Regions from separate parts of the Homo sapiens genome. Here region 1 is linked to region 2. Evidence: promoter capture Hi-C in 16 types of primary human blood cells and fetal thymus (Javierre and others, 2016). All regions are on one chromosome and are shown on one strand. The core of a region is centred on a gene start or on the middle of the fragment in contact, and the rest is flanking DNA. Distances in the headings are between cores, read along the strand shown. Region 1 has its middle 5.9 kb from the start of URI1. Region 2 holds the start of PDCD5 (programmed cell death 5).

Region 1 (4,621 bases), core at 1,212-3,711, 2.6 Mb before region 2:
TGATTCTCCTGCCTCAGCCTCCCAAGTAGCTGGGATTACAGGTGCCTGCCACCACGCCCGGCTAATTTTTGTATTATTAGAAGAGACGGGGTTTCACCATGTTGGCCAGGCTGGTCTTGAACTTCTGACCTTAGGTGATCCACCTGCCTTGGCCTCACAAATTGCTAGGATTACAGGCATCAGCCACCATGCCTGGCCTTATTCCATCTTTCTGCTAGCTTTGGTTTTAGTTTACTCTTCTTTTTCTAGTTACCTAAGCCACATAGTTAGGTTATTGATATGTTAGTTTGCTAGGGCCATGATAACACTTTATCACGAAGTGAGTAGCTTAAACAATAGAAATTTATTTTCTCACAATTCTGGAGGCTGGAAGTCCAAGATCAAGGTGTCAGCAGGGTTGATATTTTCTCAGGCCTCACCCCTTGGCTTGCAGATGCTGCCTTCTCACTACAATCCCACGTGGTTTTTCTTATGTGTACACACATGCTACTGTTCAGATCTCTTCTTCTCTGTTATGACATGAGGTCTTGCTCTGTAGCCCAGGCTGTAGTGCAGTGGTGAGCTCATAGCTCACTGCAGCTTCGACCTCTTGGGCTCAAGCAATCCTCCTGCCTTAGCCTCCCAAGTCGCTGTGACTACAGGCATGTGCCACCAAACCTGGCTTATTTTTTTTTAATTTTATTTATTTATTTATTTATTTTTAGAGACCAGGTCTCACTATGTTGCTCAGGATAGTCTTGAATCCTGGGCTCAAGTGATCCACCTGCTTTGGCTTCCCAGGGATTGGTAGCATAAGTGCTGGGATTACAGGCATAAGCCAACATGCCCATATTATTTTCTTACTTTCCATCCTTTCGAATCTTTTGATCCAAAGTAAGTCTCTTGCAGACAGCATATAAATTAATAATTTTTAGAAATCCATTCTATCAATCTCTGCCCTTTAATTAGACAGTTTAGTCCATTTACATTTAAAGTAATTACCAATAAAGGATTTAATTCTGCCATTTATTTAATAGCTATTTGCTTTTCTGTACATTTTTTAAATTTTGTTCCTCAATTCCTCCACTACTACATTTTTTTGGTATTTAATAGATTTTAGTGTATCATTTTGATTCCTTTTTTCTTTCCCTGTCTGTATATTTTTTAGTTATTTTCTTAGCGGTTGCCTTGGGGATCACAATTAGCATCTTAAATTTATAACACCCTAATTTGAATAATACTAACTTAGTTTTAAGAGTATACAAATACTTTGCTCCTATACATCTCTTTCCCTCCCTCTTTATATTATTATTGTCCCAGATCATATCTTTATACATTCTGTGCCCATTAACATAGATTTATAATTATTGTTTCATGCATTTGCCCTTTAAATGATAGGTGAAAAACAAAGTATTATGAACAAAACCTACAATAATACTGGCTTTTATATTTACTGATGTATGTAGTTACTATTTTTATCAGTGTTCTTTTTTTTTCTCATCATGGCTTTGAATTACTATCAAGTTTCCTTTCATTTCAGCCTGATGGATTCATTTTAGCAGCTCTTGTAGAGCAGGGCTACTAGCAATGAGCTTTCTCTGCGTTTATTTATCTGAAAATGTCTTAATTTCTCCTTTATTCCTGAAGGATAGTTTGTCTGGTAGGAAATTCTTGGTTGACAGTCTTTTTTTTTTTTTTCCCCAGGACTTTAACTGTGTTATTCCACTGCCTCTGGGCCTCTGGTTCCTTTTCTTTTCTTTTCTTTTCTTTTCTCTTTTCTTTTTTTTTGAGATGGAGTCTCACACTGTCATCCAGGCTGGAGTGAAATGGTGCCGTCTTGGCTCACTGCAACCTCTGCCTTCCAGGTTCAAGCAATTCTCCTGCCTCAGTCTCCCAAGTAGCTGGGACTACAGGCACCCGCCACCACGCCTGGCTAGTTTTTTGTATTTTTAGTAGAGACAGGGTTTCACTATGTTGACCAGGCTGGTCTAGAATGCCTGACCTCATGATCCACCTGCCTTGGCCTCCCAAAGTGCTGGGATTATAGGCGTGAGCCACTGTGCCCGGCACTTAAAAAAAATTTTTTTTTGAGATGGAGTTTTGCTTTTTTAGAGTTTTGCTCTTGTGCCCAGGCTGGAGTGCAGTGGTGCAATCTTGGCTCACTGAAACCTCCACTTCCCAGGTTCAAGCAATTCTCCAGCCTCAGCCTCCCAAGTAGATAGGATTACAGGTGCCCACCACCGCATCTGGCTAATTTTTGTATTTTTAGTAGAATGGGGTTTCGCCATATTGGTCAGGCTGGTCTCGAACTCCTGACCTCAGGCGATCTGCCCACCTCGGCCTCCCAAAGTGCTGGAATTACAGGCCTGAGCCACTGCACCCAGCCCCTCTATGGTTTCTGATGAAAGCTTAGCTATTAATGTTACTGAGGACTCCTTGTACCTTACAAGTTGTTCCTCTCTTGCTGCTTTCAAGATTCTCTTTTTGTTTCTGATTTTTGACAATCTGGCTGTGAGTTTCAGTATGAATCTCTGAGTTTCTCGCGCTTGTAATTTGTTAAGCTTCTTGGACGTGTATGTTCATATCCTTCATCAAATTTGGGAAGTTTTCAGCCATTATTTCTTCAAATTTCTTTTTCTGTCCCTTCCTGTTCCTCTTCTCCTTCAGGAACTTCTACTATGCATATGTTGATATATGCTTGATGGCATCACATGGATCTATCAGGCTCTGTTCATTTTTCCTTTTCTTTTTTTTGAGATAGAGTCTCACTCTATTGCCCAGGCTGGAGTGCAGTGGCATGATCTTGGCTCACTGCAACCTCCTCCTTCTTGATTCAAGTGATTCTCTGGCCTCAGCCTCCCCAGCAGCTAGGGTTACAGGTGCGCGTCACAATGCCTGGCTAATTTTTGTATTTTAGTAGAGATGGGGTTTCACCATGTTGGCCAGGCTGATCTCAAACTCCTGAATTCAAGTGATCCACCCTCCTCGGCCTCCCAAAGTGCTGGGATTACAGGCATGAGCCACCATGGCCAGCCTATTTTTCGTTATTTATTTTTCTCTCTTTACAACTGGACAATTTCAATTGCCTTATCTTCAAGTTCACTGGTTCTTTCTTCTTCCTGATTCTTCAGATCAGCTTTTTGATCTCTCTAGTGAATTTCTAAGTTCAAGCTATTGTACTTTTCGGCTCCAGGATTTCTATTTTGTTCCTTTTTATAAGATTAAACTATCTCTTCATTGGCCTTCCCTATTTGTTCATATATTATTTTGGTTTCCTTTAGCTCATTGGGTGTAAGACAGTTGATTTAATGTCTTTGACTAATGTTTCCAATGTAAAGGCTTCCTTGGGGATGGCTTCTATTGAATTCTTTTTTTCCCCCTGTGAATAGGCTATACTTTCCTTTTTCTTTGTATGCTTTGTAATATTTTGTTGAGCACTTGGCATTTTGGGTATTATTGTAGTAACTCTGAAAATCAGATTCTCCTCCTCTTCAGGGATTGCTGATTTTTGCTTGTTGAGGGTTGCAGCCATCTGTTTGTTTAGAGACTTTTCCAAACTATGTTTGCAAAGTGTGTAGTCCTTATTGCATGTGGTTACTGATGTTTTTGTTTCATAATCTTTACAGGCAACCAGTGACCTGGAAATGATATCTGTAAATTTCTGGCTACAAAAAGGTGTTCTTTACTTTCAAATCTCCTGATGGATGCTGCCATAGGAAGCACAAGAGGGCTGAAACCAATACAGGAGTCTGTGCTAATCCCTCAGGACTCAAAAATGCCCCAATTTTTGGAGGACAAGGGTCATCTTGCCCACCTTGCAACCAGCCAGCCATTCCAGGAAAGCTATTCCTGCAGCCTCATGGTAGGGTGAGGGCTGAGAAATGGGGCATGGCAGCTGTTTTGCATCCACCCTGTTGCTGTTCTCTTACCAACAACCAGCAGCCTCTTTTTTCATCAAGAACTCCCCTGGCTGTTTATTCATGTCTCATGAGGTTTGCCTGTCTAATTTTTTGTATCTTTAGTAGAGATGGGGTTTCACCATATTGGCCAGGCTGGTCTCGAAATCCTGACCTCAGGAGATCCATCTGCTTTGGGCTCCCAAAGTTTTGGGATTACAGATGTGAATTATTGTGCCCAGCCAAGGCTGGGTAATTTGTAAAGAAAGGAGGTTTATTTGGCTCGCAGTTCTGTGGGCCATACAAGCATGTGGCACCAACACCTGCTCGGTTTCTGGTGAGGCCTCAGGAAGCTTCCAATCATGGTGGAAGGCAAATGGGGAGCTGCACGTCACATGGCAAGTGGAAGTAAGAGCTAGGGAGCAAGAGAGGAAGGAGGAGGTGCCAGGCTCTTTTAAACAACCAGCTTTCATGTGAACTCATTACTGCAGAAGAGCAGCAAACCATTCATGAGGGATCCGCCCCCAAGACCCAAACACCTCCCACTAGGCCCCACTTCCAACATTAGGGATCACGTTTCAACATGAGATTTTGAGGGAACAATATCCAAACCATGTTAGTGGCCCTCTATTGACTCCAACATCTATGAACAGGGCTGGTGCTTGCCTTGGTCAACTCTTGTCTCCCATTCCCAGTGGGGGGCCTGGCACATGAAGAAGGGATTAACCAATAATAAGTAATAAAGT
Region 2 (4,309 bases), core at 1,692-4,191:
GTGCTGGGAAAACTGGATAGCCACATGCAAAAACATGAAGTGGGACCCTTACCTAATGCCATATTAACTCAAAATGGACCACAGACCTGAACATAATGAGCTAAAACTATAGAACTTCTAGAAGGAAACAGGAGAATAGCTTCATAACGTTAGATTTGGCAGTTATTTCTTGGGTATGACACCAAAAGCAAAGGCAACAAAAGAAAAAATAGGTAAGTTGGACTTTATGAAAATTAAAATATTTTGTGCATTGAAGGACACAATCAACAGAATGTAAATCCCATGGAATGGGAGAAAATAGTTGCAAATCATATACTTTGATAAGGGATTATCTAAAATATGTAAAGAACTACTACAACGCAACAACAAAAAAAGAAAAGCAAATTTTAAAATGGGCAAAGGGCTAGAAGAGACATTTTTCTTTTCTTTTCTTTTCTTTTCTTTTTTTTCTTGAGACAGAGTCTCGCTCTGTCACCAGGCTGGAGTCCAGTGGCGCGATCTTGGCTCACTGCAACTTCCGGCTCCCGGGTTCAAGTGATTCTCCTGCCTCAGCCTCCTGAGTAGCTGGGACTACAGGTGCGTGCCACCACGCCCAGCTAATTTTTGTATTTTTAGTAGAGACAGGGTTTCGCCATGTTGGCCAGGATAGTCTCAATCTCTTGACCTAGTGATCTGCCCTCCTCAGCCTCCCAAAGTGCTGGGATTACAGGAGTAAGCCATCGCACCTGGCCTAGAGTAGACATTTCTCTAAAGAAGATATACAAATGGCCAACAAGCACATGAAAAGATGCTCAACATCACTAATCGTTAGAGAAATGCATATCAAAACCACAACACCTCACCTCATACCCGTTAGGATGGTTACTATCAAAAACAATCAAAAAACAAACAAACAAAAAAACAGAACACAACAAATATTGGTGAGGAGACGGTGAAATTGGAACCTTCATTCACTGTTGGTTGGAATGTAAAATAGTGCAGTTGCTGTGGAAAATGGTATGGCCATTCCTCAACACAGAATTATCACATTATCCAACAATTTCTCTTCTGGGTATATATCCAAAAGTGAAAGCACAGACCTGAACAGATATTTCTACACCCATGTTCATAGCTGCATTATTAATAATAGCCAAAAGGTGGATGCAACCTAAGTGTCCATTGTCAGATGAATGGATAAACAAAATGTGCTAGGTATATCCATACAATGGAATATATTCAGTCTAAAGAGGGAAAGAAATTCTGCCACATGCTACAACATGAATGAACCTTTAAGACATATGCTAGGTGGAGTAAGCCAGTCACAAAAGGACAAATATTGTATGATTCCACATATACAAGATACCCAGAATAGGCAAATTCATAGAAACTAGAATGAGAATGGGTGGAGACTGATTATTATTCTCAGACCCCTCCCACCCCCACCCATTCCCATTAGAGGCCCCTCACACCAACCTAAATCTTTACTGGGTAGAGTTCCAGTTCAGGATGATAAAAAAAAAAAGTTGTAGAGATTGATGGTGGACAAGGTGGTTCATGCCTGTAATCCCAGCACTTTGGGAGACCAAGGCAGGTGGATCACTTTAGGTCAGAAGTTCGAGACCAGCTTGACCAACATGGTGAAACCCCATCTCTACTAAAAAATACAAAATTAGCCGGGCACAGTGGTGCACGCCTGTGGTCCCAGCTACTTGGGAGACTGATGCAGGAGAATCGCTTGAACCCGGGAGGTGGAGGTTGCAGTGAGCTGAGATTGAGTGACAACTGCACGATAATGCATTTCATACCACTGAAAAGTACACCTAAAAATGGTGAAAATGGTAAATTTTGTATTGTGTATATTTTGCCACAATTAAAACACACAGGCCAGGTGTGGTGGCTCATGCCTGTAATGTTAGCAGTTTGGGAGGCTGAGGCAAAAGGATTGCTTGAGCTCAGGAGATAGAGGCCAGCCTAGGCAACATAGCGAGACCCCATCTGTATTTTTTTAATGTAAAAAATAAAATAACACACACACAGACAAACAAACAGAATCTGTATGAGTCACACGTTTAGGTAGCTGAATATCCTCTCTGCCCCCAATTCCCCCAAGTCAAAGGCAGAAGGGATTTGTTCCACCAAAGAGTTTACACCAGCCACAGCTGCCCACTGCAGTATCCTCCCAGGAAAAGCCCTTTTGTGCGTGGAGGAGGCAGATGGCGAGGAGGCAGATGTGCACTTTTTTTTTTTTTTTTTTTTTTTTTAGAGACAGGGTCTGGCTGTGTCTCCCAGGCTGGAGTGCAGTGGCGAGATCAAGGCTCACTGCAGCCTCGAACTTCCGGGCTCCAGCGATCCTCCTGACACAGCCTCCTGAGTAGCTGGGACTACAGGTGCACATCACCGCGCCCAACTAGTTTTTTAAAATTTTAGTAGAGATAGGCTCTTGCCATATTGCCCAGGCTGGTCTCTAACTCCTGACCTCAAATGACCCTACCGCCTCCCGAAGCGTCGGGACCACAGGCGGCGAGCCACCGGCCGGCCTCTGTGTGCACCGAGGAGCCGGGCAGCCACCGCCACGATCCAGCTTTAGGACATTTCCATCACCCCACTCAGCCTTCCTGCGCCCCTGGTTCCTCATCTATAAATAGAGATAATATACGCCTAACCCTCTAGGTCACCAGCACATTGCACCCATAATTATTATACTTGTTGATGCCACACTTTCAGGTTTTAACCTTTCCAAAGCGCAGCCCCGCCCCAGCGCAGCCCAAGTCCCTGCACGCAGAGGCGCCGATCACGGGTGGGAGGTGGATCCCGGAGGCCCCGCCCCAGGCCCCGCCCCTCCGTGCGCCCAAGCTCGACCGCCTGAAATCGGGGAATCGGGCCTCTGCCGGCGCCCTGGCAGCGGCGCGGGGCGTGGCTCCGGGCTGGATTGGTGGCGCCTGGGCCCCGCGAGCGCCTGCGCAGTGGTCAAGGCCGCGCTCGCGCCGAGGGGCTGCGAGAGTGACCGCGGCTGCTCCAGCGCTGACGCCGAGCCATGGCGGACGAGGAGCTTGAGGCGCTGAGGAGACAGAGGCTGGCCGAGCTGCAGGCCAAACACGGGGTGAGCGCATCAGCCCCCGCCAGGCTTGGCCCTCGCGGGGCGCCGCCCTCGCCCGGAGTGTAGGGCGCGCCTCCGGGGCGGAGGCTCTGGGCGCCTCCCCGGGGCCCCGGTCCCCTGCGCTGCCCTGGCGGCCTCGTGGCCGGCTCAGAGGTGGCCTCGTCGCTTTCCTCGTCGCGAGGGGCCCAGGAGGCTGGCGGCGGGGGCCGCCACGTGCGGGACCTGCCCTGGCGTTGGGGTGTGGGGTCCCCTAGCCTGGAGCGGGCTCGTCCTGGCGGGCCTGGATCCAAGCACAATCTCAGCTTTTGGAGCCAGCAGCCGGACCGAATTCAGTTTTTCCGGAGTTCAGTTGTTATGACCCAAGTTTAGCCGACAGGTATTGAGGGTCCGCTGTGTTCCCGGTGCTGAGAGCGCGGCAGGGTCGGAGGAACGCTTGCCCCGCCGGGATGACAGGGAGGGGCCGCCTGGGAAGCTTGGATGGATCACACGCCCGGAGAGGCGTTTCTGATAAGGGACCGGGACCTTAGGGACGGAGGGCGCAGTCTTTGAGTTATCGTTGTCCCTAATACCGAGGCCCGTTTTATTTTCCAGAAATTATTCCTACATGTGAAACACGGTTTCGTAATACAGGGATTCCCCTCCCCAGGGTGCTCTGTATTCCAAAGCCTTCTGAGGTTGTGGTTTTAGACGTTCATCAAAACGTTGTAAGTGGGAACTAGTTCATTGATTTCTGTGAGGCCCAGTTTCTTATTTGGGGAGTTGTTTCTACCACCGCAAGAGACTGTTATGTATAGGAAACAACAGAACCGTTCCTTTTTCCCGCCGCCTCCCGTGAAATTTCTCTATTAAATTTAAGTTTTTTTTTTCCAGGATCCTGGTGATGCGGCCCAACAGGAAGCAAAGCACAGGTATGGGCTGGAAACGTGAACTTTTTGAAGGGTGGTTTCACCAAATGGATTTCTTTTGCTGTAGTTATTTTAAGCAGGTGTGTGACTCAGATTTTTTTGTTTTGCTGGAATGGTGATTTGGCCAAAATCATCCGCAGGGTATCTTCATTATTGTTAAATAAACACGTGTGCAGCTCCACATCAGACCTTGTATTGCAATTACTGGTTGATGTTTCTCTGCTACAATGTGAGTACCTTAAAAATGAGCCTGATAATAGGCAGCTGTGGCAGTTTCCTCGGCTGTGGGGGTGACGTGAGTCCGGTGCCTCACTTAGTAAGTGCTCAA

Evidence for each region. Contacts are between HindIII fragments. The CHiCAGO score rates a contact against its expected background, and 5 or more counts as called.
Region 1: a contact is called between a fragment that was not itself captured here and the fragment with the promoter of PDCD5 in region 2, in 1 of 17 cell types (total B cells). The highest score is 6.7, in total B cells.

Annotation. Positions count from the first base shown.
Region 1 is chr19:29,934,038-29,938,658 of GRCh38, forward strand. It overlaps a transcript of URI1 not described here. Among named protein-coding and RNA genes, the nearest start is that of URI1, 5.9 kb to the right of the region's middle. The HindIII fragment of the contact is 153 bases long and covers 2,386-2,538 here.
Region 2 is chr19:32,578,249-32,582,557 of GRCh38, forward strand. It overlaps PDCD5 (programmed cell death 5), which reads left to right and starts at 2,942. Exons shown (of 6, transcript NM_004708.4): 1 at 2,942-3,079; 2 at 3,947-3,984. The coding sequence starts at 3,014. RefSeq lists an enhancer at 2,392-2,481 and silencers at 2,692-3,421, 2,767-2,943. The HindIII fragment of the contact is 4,450 bases long and covers 1-3,546 here.